Linked DNA regions of Homo sapiens: regions 2, 3 and 4 are each linked to region 1. The links are contacts of gene promoters, found by promoter capture Hi-C in blood cells and fetal thymus (Javierre and others, 2016). All regions are on one chromosome and are shown on one strand. Each heading gives the region's core, a stretch centred on a gene start or on the middle of the fragment in contact. The rest is flanking DNA. Distances are from core to core; before and after follow the strand shown.

The links. Contacts are between HindIII fragments. The CHiCAGO score rates a contact against its expected background, and 5 or more counts as called.
Region 2: a contact is called between a fragment that was not itself captured here and the fragment with the promoter of NALCN-AS1 in region 1, in 1 of 17 cell types (endothelial precursors). The highest score is 7.2, in endothelial precursors.
Region 3: a contact is called between a fragment that was not itself captured here and the fragment with the promoter of NALCN-AS1 in region 1, in 1 of 17 cell types (endothelial precursors). The highest score is 5.8, in endothelial precursors.
Region 4: a fragment that was not itself captured here is called in contact with the fragment with the promoter of NALCN-AS1 in region 1 in 1 of 17 cell types (endothelial precursors); the score reaches 6.1 in endothelial precursors.

Annotation. Positions count from the first base shown.
Region 1 is chr13:100,706,231-100,709,624 of GRCh38, forward strand. NALCN-AS1 (NALCN antisense RNA 1) reads left to right here and starts at 2,095. Exons shown (of 8, transcript NR_047687.1): 1 at 2,095-2,163. The HindIII fragment of the contact is 7,868 bases long and covers 498-3,394 here.
Region 2 is chr13:101,097,034-101,100,153 of GRCh38, forward strand. The region is part of intron 27 of NALCN (sodium leak channel, non-selective); the gene reads right to left. Among named protein-coding and RNA genes, the nearest start is that of LINC00411, 150 kb to the left of the region's middle. The HindIII fragment of the contact is 556 bases long and covers 1,592-2,147 here.
Region 3 is chr13:101,124,563-101,127,880 of GRCh38, forward strand. It overlaps NALCN (sodium leak channel, non-selective), which reads right to left. Exons shown (of 44, transcript NM_052867.4): 18 at 46-119. Among named protein-coding and RNA genes, the nearest start is that of LINC00411, 180 kb to the left of the region's middle. The HindIII fragment of the contact is 4,097 bases long and covers 1-3,299 here.
Region 4 is chr13:100,997,374-101,000,707 of GRCh38, forward strand. All of the region lies in intron 2 of NALCN-AS1 (NALCN antisense RNA 1), which reads left to right. Among named protein-coding and RNA genes, the nearest start is that of LINC00411, 55 kb to the left of the region's middle. The HindIII fragment of the contact is 1,305 bases long and covers 860-2,164 here.

The DNA of each region.
Region 1 (3,394 bases), core at 845-3,344:
GAACCACACGTGAGCTGCACTCACCACTTCTCCTACATCCGGAGCGAAAACAACCTCCCTTCCTTCTTTTCTTTCCTCTCCCCTTCTCTTTCTTCTTCTCTTTCTGCTTCCTTGTCCTTCTCCTCATTCCTTTGCAAACCATGAAGAGATAAAACTGTCCATGATGAGATGCTCAGTTTTTTCAAGACGAATTGCTGTTCCACCTCTTAAAAAAAGATCTCACTGCAGAACTGTGCACCCGCGTTTATAAATGTTAGATAACTATGGAAATGATTTAATCAGTTCATCAACACATTTGTTAAGCACCTGTTTTCTGTAAGGCACTGAGCTAGCCAATGAGGGAAAAAGACATGTGATAGACATCGGTTTGCACTTTATTTCCTCTCACACGTCTGTCGTCAGTGCCTTATGTACGTGTCACCTAGTCTATTAATCCACACTTCCTTACTGAGTGCCACCATGTTCCAGGCAGCATGAGAAGCAAACAGCCTTCAGGAAGCTTCCCTCTTCTCCACACACTTTCTCCTTGTTAGTTTGCTCAGACTCCATAACCAAGTACCACAGGCTGGGAGTCGTAAAACCACAGAAACTTACTGTCTCTAGTCCTGGAGGCTAGAGTTTGAAATCAAGGTGTTGGCAGGGCTGTTGTCCTTTCGAGCTCTAGGGAAGGGTCCTTCTTTGCCTCTTCCAGCTTGTGGTGGCCCACAGCACTCCCCGGCTTGTAGCAGCATCACTCCAACCTCTGCCTCTATCTTTACGTGACCTTCCCTCTGTGTGTGTCTGTGTTCAAATTTTTCTCTTCTTAGAAGGACAGCAGTCGTGTTGGATAAGGGCCCGCCCTCATCCAGTATAGCCTCATTTTAACTTGATTCCATCTGCAAAGACCCTATCTCCAAATGAGGGCGCATTCGCAGGTTCTGGGGGTTAAGACTTCAACATGTCTTCAATCCGTCCACAAAACTCTTCTTTCCTCCTTCTCTTACCCTCTGATGAAACTTTCTTCTCTTCTACTCCATTCTTTACCATTCCCTTTTCTTTTTACACAGCTGTATCTTACTGTCTCATTCACCTTCATCCCAGACGAGCCTCTCCTTCATTTCCAGCTTCATATGAGTCCCCATGTCTCTCCCAGTGGTGATGCTGGCTCCCTTGGAGGTGGGGCACAGTAGCCCAGAGGGGTATGAAGGAGAGCGAGAGCGCAGGTGAATGTCTTTAGTGACACTCATCTCAGCAATTGTTCCCTCTCCCATTCACTCAGTGTCCTGCAATCTTGAATATACCACCCATAGGGAAGCATGAGGGAAGGAAAGAGCTGAGAAAGGAGAATGAAGATAAGGATGAAATTCCCTAGATAATCACAGCAAGCAATTAATCTAATTAAGCTAATATTATTCAACTAATTTTATAATACCTGCCAGAATGTTATCAGATTTCGCTGAAGTGCAGCAGCATATTTCAAAATAAGTAGAAAGGGATTACAGATCCTAACTTTGGCAATAAGACTTTGAATCCATGGACTCTGTCTCGCAGTGGGGTTATTGGCTAGTATATCATTGGTGCCTGTGGAATACTTGAGGGATTCCAGTTAGATCAATCAGTTGTATGACCTGCTGCATGTAACTGCTGATGAAGAGGCTTTATCGAGCTGAGTCAGCTTCTGATAGCTGAGCCTCAAAACCTCAGGTGTCTCTCTCTTCCATCATTTACGCAAGAGTGAGAGGTTAGGTCAGACCCTCATTGGCACAATTGTTTTAGCTCAGTGGTTGATGAGCTGATTTCCAGTTTCTCTCTCCCACAAACCTGTGACTCACCCACAAAGGAACATTAGTGGGCTTTGCGGCCCTGATTTCTGGCATCCTAGGTGGGAAAATGAAGAGAGTTAAATCATGATGACACATTGCACACCAGCTCTGCAGGCTGTGAGCCAACTGTGAGAGGCAGGCACAGAGAGCTGGTGATATGGTTTGGTTCTGTGTCCCCACCCAAATCTCTGTCAGATTGTAATCCCCAGTGTTGGAGGAGTGGCCTGGTGGGAGGGGATGGAATCATGGGGGCGGACTTCCTCCTGGCTGTTCCTGTGATAGGGAGTGAGTTCTCGCAAGACCTGGTTGTTTAAAAGTGGGCGGCACCTTCCCCTTCGCTCTTCCTCCTGCTCCTGCCCTGGTAAGAAGTGCTGCTTCCCCTTTGCTTTCTGCCATGATTGTACGTTTCCTGAGGCCTTCCCAGCCATGCTTCCTGTGTGGCCTGTGGAACGGTGAGTCAATTAAACCTCTTTTCATTATAAATTACCCAGTCTCAGGTAGTTCTTTATAGCAGTGTGAGAACTGACTCATTTCAGCTGGTGTATTAGTTTTCTATGGCTGCTGTAGCAAAATACCACAGACAGGGGAGCGTAAACAACAGAAACGTATTCTTTCAAGGTGTCAGCAGGCCTGGTTTCTTCTGAGGCTTCTCTGCTTGGCTTGCAGATGGCTGCCTTCTCAATGTGTCCTCACGTGGTCTTTCCTCTGTGTGCACACATCCCTGGTATCTCTCTTTGTGTCCAAATTTCCTTTTCTTATAAGGACACCAGTCAGATTGTGTTAGGGCTAACCCTCATGGTTTCATTTTAAATTAATTACCTCTTTAAAGGCCCTGTCTCCAAATACAGTCGCATTCTGAGGTACTGGGCGTTAGGGCTTCAATATAGGAATTTGGGGGTTGGGGAAGACACAATTCAGCCCATAACAACTGGTTAGCCAAGAGGAACTAGTTTTGGAAGGAGCATATGACTTTCTTTTCTTCCTTTTCTTCACCCCCACCATCCAGAGCCTTGATTGGGCACTTCTAGCTAATACCTCTGGAAGTTGTATTAACAATAAAGTATCTCTAAGATAAGGTTTTCCAAATAGCTTCATATTTCCTAGAGTACTTGCTAAAATGCAGATTCTTGGGCTACCTGAAATGCTATAAATGGGAAGCTCTTAGGGTTGTAGCCTAGGAGCCTGTATGTTCCCAATAATTACTTCTCCAGGTAATTCTAAAGAACACTAAACTGGAGTTGCGTCACTATCAGTTGGAGATGATTGACTTGACAAAACTAATGATTGGTCACTACTTTTTAAATATGCTGACATGCTTTTTGAATAAAAGTTGCAGAGAAAGAGCAGGCTGCTGTGGGTGAACTGTGCATAACTCTATTTTATTGATGTTTCAACCAGTAAGGACAGACTATTACTGAAGCATTAACAAATAGCTGCGGTGATTATAAATTATTGTCACCTAAATGCAGGGAATCCCACGAGTGTGTGTTGAACATGAGCATTCTATGCATCATGCAATTCTCCAGAGGAAAATCAAAGAGCAAAAGTGCCTCAGACATTCTTTCTAAAACCAGTAAGATTGTATATAGAGA
Region 2 (3,120 bases), core at 620-3,119, 390 kb after region 1:
GGTTCCCTGGGCTTTCCCTGTCCTTCTTGGCCCAAGTCTCCATTCTTACTACGATGAGTTTAGTAATGCCAACGTTACTTCTTTCTGGATTACCAGCATGATTCTTTAAAATAAGAATATTTTAATGCAAATAACACATCTTTAATTTATAAAGCCTGGACAAATAAAAGGAAGAAAACTTACCCACAATTGCCACAGACAAACACAATGAACGTTTTGGAGTATATCCTTCCAGTCTTTTTTCCTATATGTATCTGAGCTCATAAAGTTTATATTCTTCCATCGCCCACTTTTTTCAGCTAAAACTACATTGCGATTATCTTTCCATAACCATACCTTTTTATGTAGAACATTATTTGGAAAGGCTGTGTTGTAGTGTATTGTATAAAGGTCCCTTGACATATTTGGCCTCACTGCCTTTTCCAATTTGTCTTCCTGAACCCACCTGAGCCCACCTTTGATTGCATGAAGCAGTCTGGTATCTTGGTGAAAAGCCAGGGTGCCTGGACACTAGTTCCCTGCTTCTCCACTTATTAGGTGGGTGACCTTGGACAAATTATTTAATCTTTCTACACCTGTTTTCCTCATTAGGAATGGATATCCTCATTAGGATATGGGTAACAAAAACAGCACTAGGAATGGTGCTTTGTACTTTGTGGGCACTAGGATGTGTCTGATTCCTCTTCTTACCAACCTTTTGTGGTTTCTCACTTCTCATCAACGAAATTCCAAACCCCTTAGCCAGGCATTTCAGGCACTTGAGGATCTCTCCCTAACTTACATTTCTGGCCTTGTTCTTCAGTTTTTTCCTACATGGGCGGGAATGAAATTAACACTCACTGTTGAGATCAGGTTAGGTACTTCGCATAAACAAGGTAATCTAATCTTCATAATATCATTGTGTGAGAAGCATTCAAGGCAGAAATAGGTTCCAGAAGGATTAAGTGACCAGACCAGGCCATCACCTCTCCTGAAGTAGGATTCCAATCTCAGAAGCTGTGATTTCGAAGCCCATGCTCCTTCCTCCTTGTTCGGTCCCTGCCTCTACACTGTGACCCTTCTTTGTATGCTCCGTGTCCTTCTTCACTGCTTGCTCTCCTTGGAAGGTCCTTTCCTGCTCATCTCAAATCCCACCTCCTCCCTGAAGCCCTCCCAGTACAGTACTCCCAGTTGGAAGCACAATTTCCCATGCTGACATCATAGATTACATGTTATTTCTGCTTCTCATAGGCTTTTGAAAACTGCTGACTTTATATTACTGTTGCTTGAACATGAAACACGTTCTGATTGGACAGAAAATGCCACAAAACAGAAGCAAGGACCTCCTAATGTTTCCCTTCCACATTTCATTTCACCTATCACAGTGCCTTGGACACAACTGACATTTAATGACTATTTGTCAAAAGGTATCCTCAGCGTTTGTTTACAGGGTTTTGGTGACAAAGTCCTAGGCTCCATATCTATATCTATATTGATCTCATGACATCTGTTGAGTTTTAAGACAACAAACAAAGGAGCAGAGGGAGGAAGTGCTCAGCCTCATACAAGAAAACACATCTTCCCAACTGGAAACTATGGGCGCAGCAACTGAAGCTTCGTTGTCTTTAACAGGAACTGTGTGTGATCTAAATGTTGGTGTATCTACTTTCCCCCTTTCTTTGGATTTATCTCTTCTTTTAGTAAGATGGGCTGAAGTTCTCCAACAGAACTTCAGCCGACGTCACCTTCACTCATGGCGTTTTTGGCCTCGGCCTCGGCCTCTTATGTTTGGATTTGAGAAGACAAAAAGACTCAAGCCCCGTCTCACCGTGCCAATTTCTTTTCAATCGTTCTGCTTGGTGCTGGTGCTCTCTATGATGGCTGAGTCTCCTTAGGCTTTCCATCTGAGCCTCGCACAGACCTCACTGCTCTAGGAAACAGGATAAATGCATCATGAAATCTGTGTCTATGCTCATCTGCTGGCTGCTGTCACCATCAATCTTCAGCTTTGGCTGGGTATGAGTGGATAATGTAAAATCACCATGCTCTTAGGCCACTGTTAATATACTGAGTCATCCAAGATTCCTAGCAGGCTTCATCCTGAAGTGTTATTATCTTTCTGGCCTCTGTTCAGTGTGGATCAAAAATCACTCTTCTTTCCACACACAAGCTTGTGGATGAATGCGTCAGGTCTCTGTCACTTTCTTTATCAGCTAATTTGATACGGCATGACCGTCAGGCCACATTCCTTGTTCTGTCTTCTCAGGTGTATCAAAGCTCTTGGAATGTCTCTCCCAGTCTGGCCTTTGTTTCAAATTCTCATTATTAATATAATTTATAATGTATTTTGGCTGAACAAAGATGTTACCTGTATTTTGTCACAATTAGAGAACAATTTGTATCATTTAAAATCTATACTAGATAGCCATATTTGCTAGAAATAAATAATGTAGTTCAGGTCTAGTAGGCCTTTTGAAGATATACATTTAGGAACTGAGGCATCATTTTATTGGGATCAAAGAGAAAATGCTTTTCTAGTTTATACATCAGCAGTGGTTGGTTTACTTTATGAATTTACTTGTAACATAAGAATCCTAAGAGAATGGGACACTTTATGATATTACAAAAATTGTCTAATTATTAACCAAACTGTGTCCCCCTTTTATTTTTCTGGAGCACACAACTAAATTCCAGCCCCCCTTGCAGTATCTCTGCTCTTTACAGAGGAATGTGGGTGGAGCAGATTCTCCCACAGCCCACTCAGTTGGAGATGGCTCTCCACTGTTATCTCCAGCTCATTGAAGAAGGCTCTGAAGACATGGCAAAGGGTGGCGGCATAGGATAGAAGGCATGTGAGTCCCTGAGTGGTCATTTGGAGGAGAGCTGTATATAGTGTATATATTGCAAATGTATATATTGCAACTGATCCAAGATGCAATATATACATTTCATTATGTGAAGCTACCGAAATATTGGGCTTGTTACAGCAGCTAGCCTTCCCTTATAACCAATGACTGAAGAAAGAGAAAGAAACGCCGTAGTGCAAGTATTCAAGTTTGGGTCTTTGTGGAGGTCCTTGTTGGTTGTCATAAAGAGGGAGATTCTGGGCAGCTAGAGCTAATGTAAAGGCACTGGCTTTCT
Region 3 (3,318 bases), core at 1-2,500, 420 kb after region 1:
AATCCCACTTGTGTTTAAATATGTGTCAACATTAATTGGTGTTACCTTAAGATTTTAGTGACTGCGGTCTCCTTTTCCAGAAGGTTCCTTGCCCTGATGCTGAAAACAGACTTGCGAAGCTGAAAATGATAAGAGTATGACTTTTAGTTTTGGAATGTTAAGAAATAATATACTGTCAAATCATTCAATAGATGACATTGTTAAAACATGAAACATGAATATGTTTCGCTAAAGCATCATCGTACAATTGACAATTCTTGTCTATTTTTACTTTTATTTGGGCAGCACCATGAACAAACTTGTGGGGCCCCACGTCCCAGCCACGGATGGTGCATTGGCTGTGCCTCACTCTGATAATGGCCTTCGTCTGAATAAAATTTTCAGTTTCCAAAGACTTTAACGTTGACCCTCATACTGGACTCCTTATTTGTCTTTGATTAGCGCAATGTTCTCTAATCCACATTATGTCTGCTGCAGGTTCTTGGCCTGTAACCTAACACTAATCTGAACAATGAGTTTAGGAGTTGTTTTGCTTGCAGGTGTGGGGAATGAATGAAATGGGCATTCAAGATCTCTTCCTAGTTGGCGATGATAAAATTACTCCAGAGAAGAGAACTAAGGAGAAAACCATCCTGGATGCTGACTGTAAATTCAAAGATATACTCCCCAAGCTCAGTTCTGTGTGGCTTGCTAGTTGCAGATTTTAGATTGGTGGAAGGTGTACAAGGAGTTAAAGCAGGCAGAAGAAGGGCAAAGAGAAAACAGGCAAATGGGCCACTATGTTCTCATAATAATAAATAAATAACTAGATTCACAATAATAAATAACTAGAATAAATAATAAATAACAGGAAAGTGTAACTCCAGTAGTCAGACTGAAGATAGTAATTGAGACCTGTTCATTTTGATCAATAGATTAGATTTACTGAGCACTTAGCATGATATTAGTGACCATAGGAGATTTAGGGTAAATAGAATTTGGAGTTCTTGGTTTCTAGAAGTGAATAGCCTAGATAGGAAGACAAGGGTAGGACACATGAGATCATCAGTGACAAGTACAGTGCAGTAGATGGCACAGTGCTAGATGATACGTAAAGGAGAAAACACAAGATCAGAGGGGCTGGAGCTCTCTGCGGTGGAACAGCAAGTCTGGACTAGTCGGCAAAGGCTTCAATGAAAAAGTGGAGGTTATACTGGGCCTTGAAGGAAGGCTAAGATTCCTAGAGGCAAAGGCGGTACTGGGTGAAGGACTGAAGTGGACATGTGTGCACAGGGCAAGTTAATTTGGTACAAACTACCTGTATAAGTGCTGTGCTAGCCAGATCTTGAAACCAGGCAAGAAGCCCTACAGGGCATACTGTGTGTCAAACAAAGTTGAGGGGGGAAAGAAAACCCTCAGAAGACAGAAAACTCTGTATTCAGTAAAAATAGATCACCTAGTTAGTTTCTTTTCAACAAGGGTTAGGTATGTTGAGGTACAAACTCACAGCACCCCATTCTACAAACAAAGCTATGAACAAATGCTATAATGTCAGTCAGTGTGTCCATAAAGCCATAGTGGAGAAGAACCAGAGTAACAAACAGGTCTTTTTAGTCACAAATGATAACCTAGATAACATCAAAACTAGCAATCCACTTTTCATATTTTACAGCAGATATGTAGTAAAGATCAGCATCACTGAACATACTGGTGATTTCCCCCTCATGAGGAAAGGTGGTTTGTTCATTTTTCTGCTCAAAAATGAAAAACCGGAATTGGTTTCATTATTCACTAGAACTCTTAGGAGAAAAATTAATGTATGGACAAGGAGACAAGAGTGGATACCAACTATTTGGAACTTCCATTTTCTTGGTAGCACATACATGCTATTTCCAATGATAAATCTTGAAACTTTCCTACTTCTCCCCTCCTGAAAGAGTTGACTTTTGGCATAATTTTTTTTTTTTTTTTAAGATAGTCTTGCTCTGCCATCCAGGCTGGAGTGCAGTGGCGTAATCTCAGCTCACCGCAACTTCCACCTCCTGGGTTCAAGCGATTCTCCTGCCTCAGCCACCCGAGTAGCTGGGACTACAGGTGCCCGCCACCATGCCCGACTGATTTTTGTATTTTTAGTAGAGATGGGGTTTCACCATATTGGCCAGGCTGGTCTTGAACTCCTGACCTTGTGATCCACCTGCCTCAGCCTCCCAAAGTGCTGAGATTACAGGCATGAGCCACCACACCCGGCCAAAAGTTGACTTTTGACATGGATTTAACCTCTCTTGAGTTGACAGCTCAGCTCCTAAGGAAAGCTGCTTGGAGCCGCTTTTGGAGATGGAAGACTCAGCTGGTGGCCCCATCATCGTGGAGCATCTGCTCTTTAGACACCTAAGAACACACATAGTCCTGAGACAGACCCAGGCACAGAGGTCCTGTGACAGTGAGTTTTAAGAGAGGACTCCAGATTCCACAACTCTTATTTCATCTTGAAAGGACAATGACATGTGTTAGTTGTCTTTCCTTCAGTGGAAGATGAGAGTCTGAATCCAATCACTTATCTACTGCCCCTGCAATTTCACGTTAGGAAAAACTTTTGGGATAATATCTGGTACACTATTGCCTAAATGATTTCTGCCCTGCACAAGATTGCTAAAAGGCTACTGAATGGCCTTTGTCCTGAATTTGAACTAAGACAAAATACAGTATTAATTCATACAGGAGAGTACTTGAGAACTGTTTTTATAACTAATGCCAGAGGTAGCAGGAGAATCAATATTATAATAGAAAAACATCAGATTTAGCTTTGGGATGTTCTTTTGTTTTGTTTTGTTTTTTGAGAAAGAGTCTCACTCTGTTGCCCAGGTTGGAGGGCAGTGGTGTGATCCCGGCTCACTGCAACCTCCGCCCCCTGGGTTCAAGCAATACTCCTGCCTCAGCCTCCCTAGTAGCTGGGATTACAGGCATGCACTACCACACCGGCTAATTTTTGTATTTTTAGTAGAGACGAGGTTTCACCATGTTGGCCAGGCTGGCCTCAAACTCCTGACCTCAAGTGATCCACCGACCTTGGCCTCCCAAAGTGCTGGGATTACAGGTGTGAGCCTCCACACCTGGCCTTTGGGATGTTCTTAAAAGAAGGAAAGGACTCACACACACATATATATGTCTTCTTTCATCTACTTATACATATATATATGATATTACATTTGATGTCCTAGATATGTATTTAGATCGTTATATACTTTCTTTTTTCTACTAAATAAAGAAGGCCTATAGTGATTATCTAGTTATTCCCTTCTTTTTTCTTACTTCTATAGTAAAGCTTTGCGAATTTTTTTT
Region 4 (3,334 bases), core at 262-2,761, 290 kb after region 1:
CCCCAGACCTCCTCTCCTGTGCTCTCCCTGTGACCCTTCACTCTACTTACAGAAGTGGGATTGGCCACCTGCTATCTCCAAGTGTACCCAAGCCTACTTTTGACTGTGGGCTTGTTCCCCAGCTCTTCCTTAAGCCTGGGGTCTGTTTTCCTAGGTATTTCCCTGGCTTGCTCCCTGGTTTCCCTGGCTTCTCAAATACCACTGTATCTGCAAGTTCTTCACTGACTACCCTCCACAAAACAGTACGCCCTCCCACTCCCCCATACCCTCTTACTCTAATTTGTTTTTCTTCATACCTCTTGTATTACCTTGTTAGTTGTTGTCTTTCTTCCTCTCCTGCCCTCTGACTGCCCCTTGTAGACTGTAAACTCCTTGATTGCAGGGACTTTGTTTAGTTCACTTCTGTTCTCCCTTTGCCTAGAACTGTACCTGGCACAGAATAATCAGTGAATAATAGTTTTGTTTTGAGTTAACTGTGAATGCTATTTGTGAGAATTAATCCTAAAATATGGAATAGGAAAAGGTTGAGTTGAAACTGAAAACATTATTCCAGGAAAATATTAACCGGAGTGGCTGGCAGTGTTAATGCCAGGCCACACAGACTTTAATGAGAAAACAAAATTTAGGAGAGAGACAATCACTATACGAAGAGAAAAAAAGAAAAATCTCTAGTAAGATACTAGAATTCTAAACCTGTTTCCACCCATGTTACCACTTGGCTCTGTATGATGCAAACATTTTAAATGACATTTGGAAGTGGACAGATCTACAGTCATGATGAGGGATTTGGCATGCCGTGCTCAGTAATTCATAGTATAAACAAAAATACTAGGCAGGATATGGGAGATTAAAATTTGAAAGCTTAATATAATGGATACACATCCTTGCTCCCAACATGTAAAGAATTCTTGAACTTTCATGACACATGAAACAATTTCCTAAATAGTGACACTAGAGCAAATTTTAATAAATGCCAAAAACTGATATCAAACATGCCATGTTCCCTCGGTGCAATCATACCACAGTGCAATCAAATTAGAAAGCCATATAAAATATTAATCCTTATCCATAATTTAAAATTTTAAAACACAATTTTAAGTATCCCATGGGTCAAAGAAGAGTCCATTATGAAAATCCAAAAATATCTGGAAGTGAATGATAGCACCAGTGTTACGGAACACAACTCATGGGATGCAGTTAAAACTGGAAAGATGGCTGTATCCTAAATACCTCCATTAGAAAGGAAGAGGACCACAGAATCAGAACTAAGTGTCCAAATGAAGACTCTTGAAAAAACTCAAACTTCATTTTTTTCTTCTCATTTTAAAAGAAATGAAAACTTGTTCTGGCCCCTAAAAGTATTGCTGGCTGTCATCCCTGGTTCTATGATGCATGTGTAGGCTGAGATTCAGCTAAATGGAGCATCTATGGCAAGAGGCTTCAAGGAAAGCATGAAGAAAATCCAGTAAGTTCTCATGTCCCACTCATGCATTTCTTATCCAGCCTTCCAGCTGGAGTGCAGTACGCAGTCGCTGAGTTGATCCTGACGGCATGTCCTCTCAAGGACCAAGATTGTTGGTGACTTTTTCTGTGTGTGATGAATCGTGAAGTGACTTGGCAGAAGTGAGAAGATGCAAATAGGCAATTAGCTTCTGAAAGTTAAAAATTGATGCAGTAGAAGAAAAATAATATTTTTGCTTATCCTCTATTTTCCATATCAAAATAAGATAAACATAAGTGACAGAAACTTTGCTTTTAAAGACAAGTAAGGAGGCAAGGTAGATGTCTGCTCTGAATTCATCATTCACATGGCTAACTTTCTCCCGTCCTTTGGGTCTTTACTGAAATGTCATTTTATCCCAGAAGACATCTCTGACCACCATGTGTAAAATGACAACATCCCCTAACATGAAACACCCCAAAGCCCCTTGCTCTCCTTTATTGATCTCTGTGCCCCATCAGGAATGGGAACTGACTTGGCAATTACTTGGTGTCGGTGTCTTGTTCATCGTTGTTCCTACAACCTATGGTCGTGGTTGACATAAATATTTACATCTCAATTGGTGTTTGATGAATAAAACATAAATGTATTTGCTAGAGTATTTATTAAAATGGGGCTCTTGGACTTGAACCCTTGGCAGTTCCAAATGCTGACCACATTAGAAGCTTCAACTATCATCTGGTTTAGTGGTCAGAGTTGATTTGGCTAATTTGAATGATTCAGCAAGAGTCTTTTGAACCTATTCATTATGCTAATTACATCCTTCCCAATCTGCCTGGTCCAGGGGAGATTTTTTTACCTGTAGATTGTTCTTCAGACTAGAATAGACAAGAAGATTTCCCCTCTTTTTAGAATCTCTGCAAATGTTTTGAAGAGATATTTGAGGAGAAAAAAAATTCTCCATTCTTCCTTTACTTGTATGTGAATCTGGACTTGGACATTTAGAGCAATTCCTGCTGATCAACCTGAAAAGAGAAAATTTAAGAAAAGAGATACAGGAAGATACTGGAAGTAAAGTCCCTATAGGACTTTGTAACTTAAAGTATCCCAGGACACTTCTGTTCTCTGGTAGTGATAGAAAGTAATATTTATTAAAGCAATTTGACAAATAAAATGGCATTGCCCTGAGTGAAAAATGGGGTTGTAATAACCCCGAATGACTGTTGTTAGTATATGGGTAATGATGAGACTCTTTATCCTCTGTCTTTGTTGATAGGTCATTCTTGCCATCAGTAACTGGAACAAGAGTTAAAATGCATGTGGCATTTCCAAAATGCCATTTCTTGTAGAAAGGTTAGCACCGTAATAAAGTTTTAGGGAACATATGAGGCCTGCTTTCTTGTTTATTGTAGGACGTGTAGTTAAAAGGCTTGTTGTCAGCCATGCCAAAGATGATATGATTGCAAGCTAGTTACAACTTGGTTTCTAAACATTCAGTGACCTGATATTATGAACAATTAGGGTGTTGGAAGGAGCAATTATTCTTTTCACACATGTATTTTAATTCTAGGGAGCCTCTTATATGAGATGTATGCAGAGATACTTCATGGTGAGTGAAATAATTTCCTTTAAATTTCAAATAGATGTCAAAACACCATGTGATAAAATCCAGCATGCAAGTTATATGATCAAAGTAAAGTCATTTTCATAAGACCAGTTTTGCATAGGATAAGAGTAAAGTTCTTTAAAATGTTTTCTTTGACTCAGAAGAATTCATTATAGAAATTATGTTGACCTAAAACTGGAAGATGAAGAAATTAGATTTGAAGTATCACAAAGTGATTTATGGGACCAGCCACCTGTCACATCTGAATCAAAGTTCAGGGTAGTTGC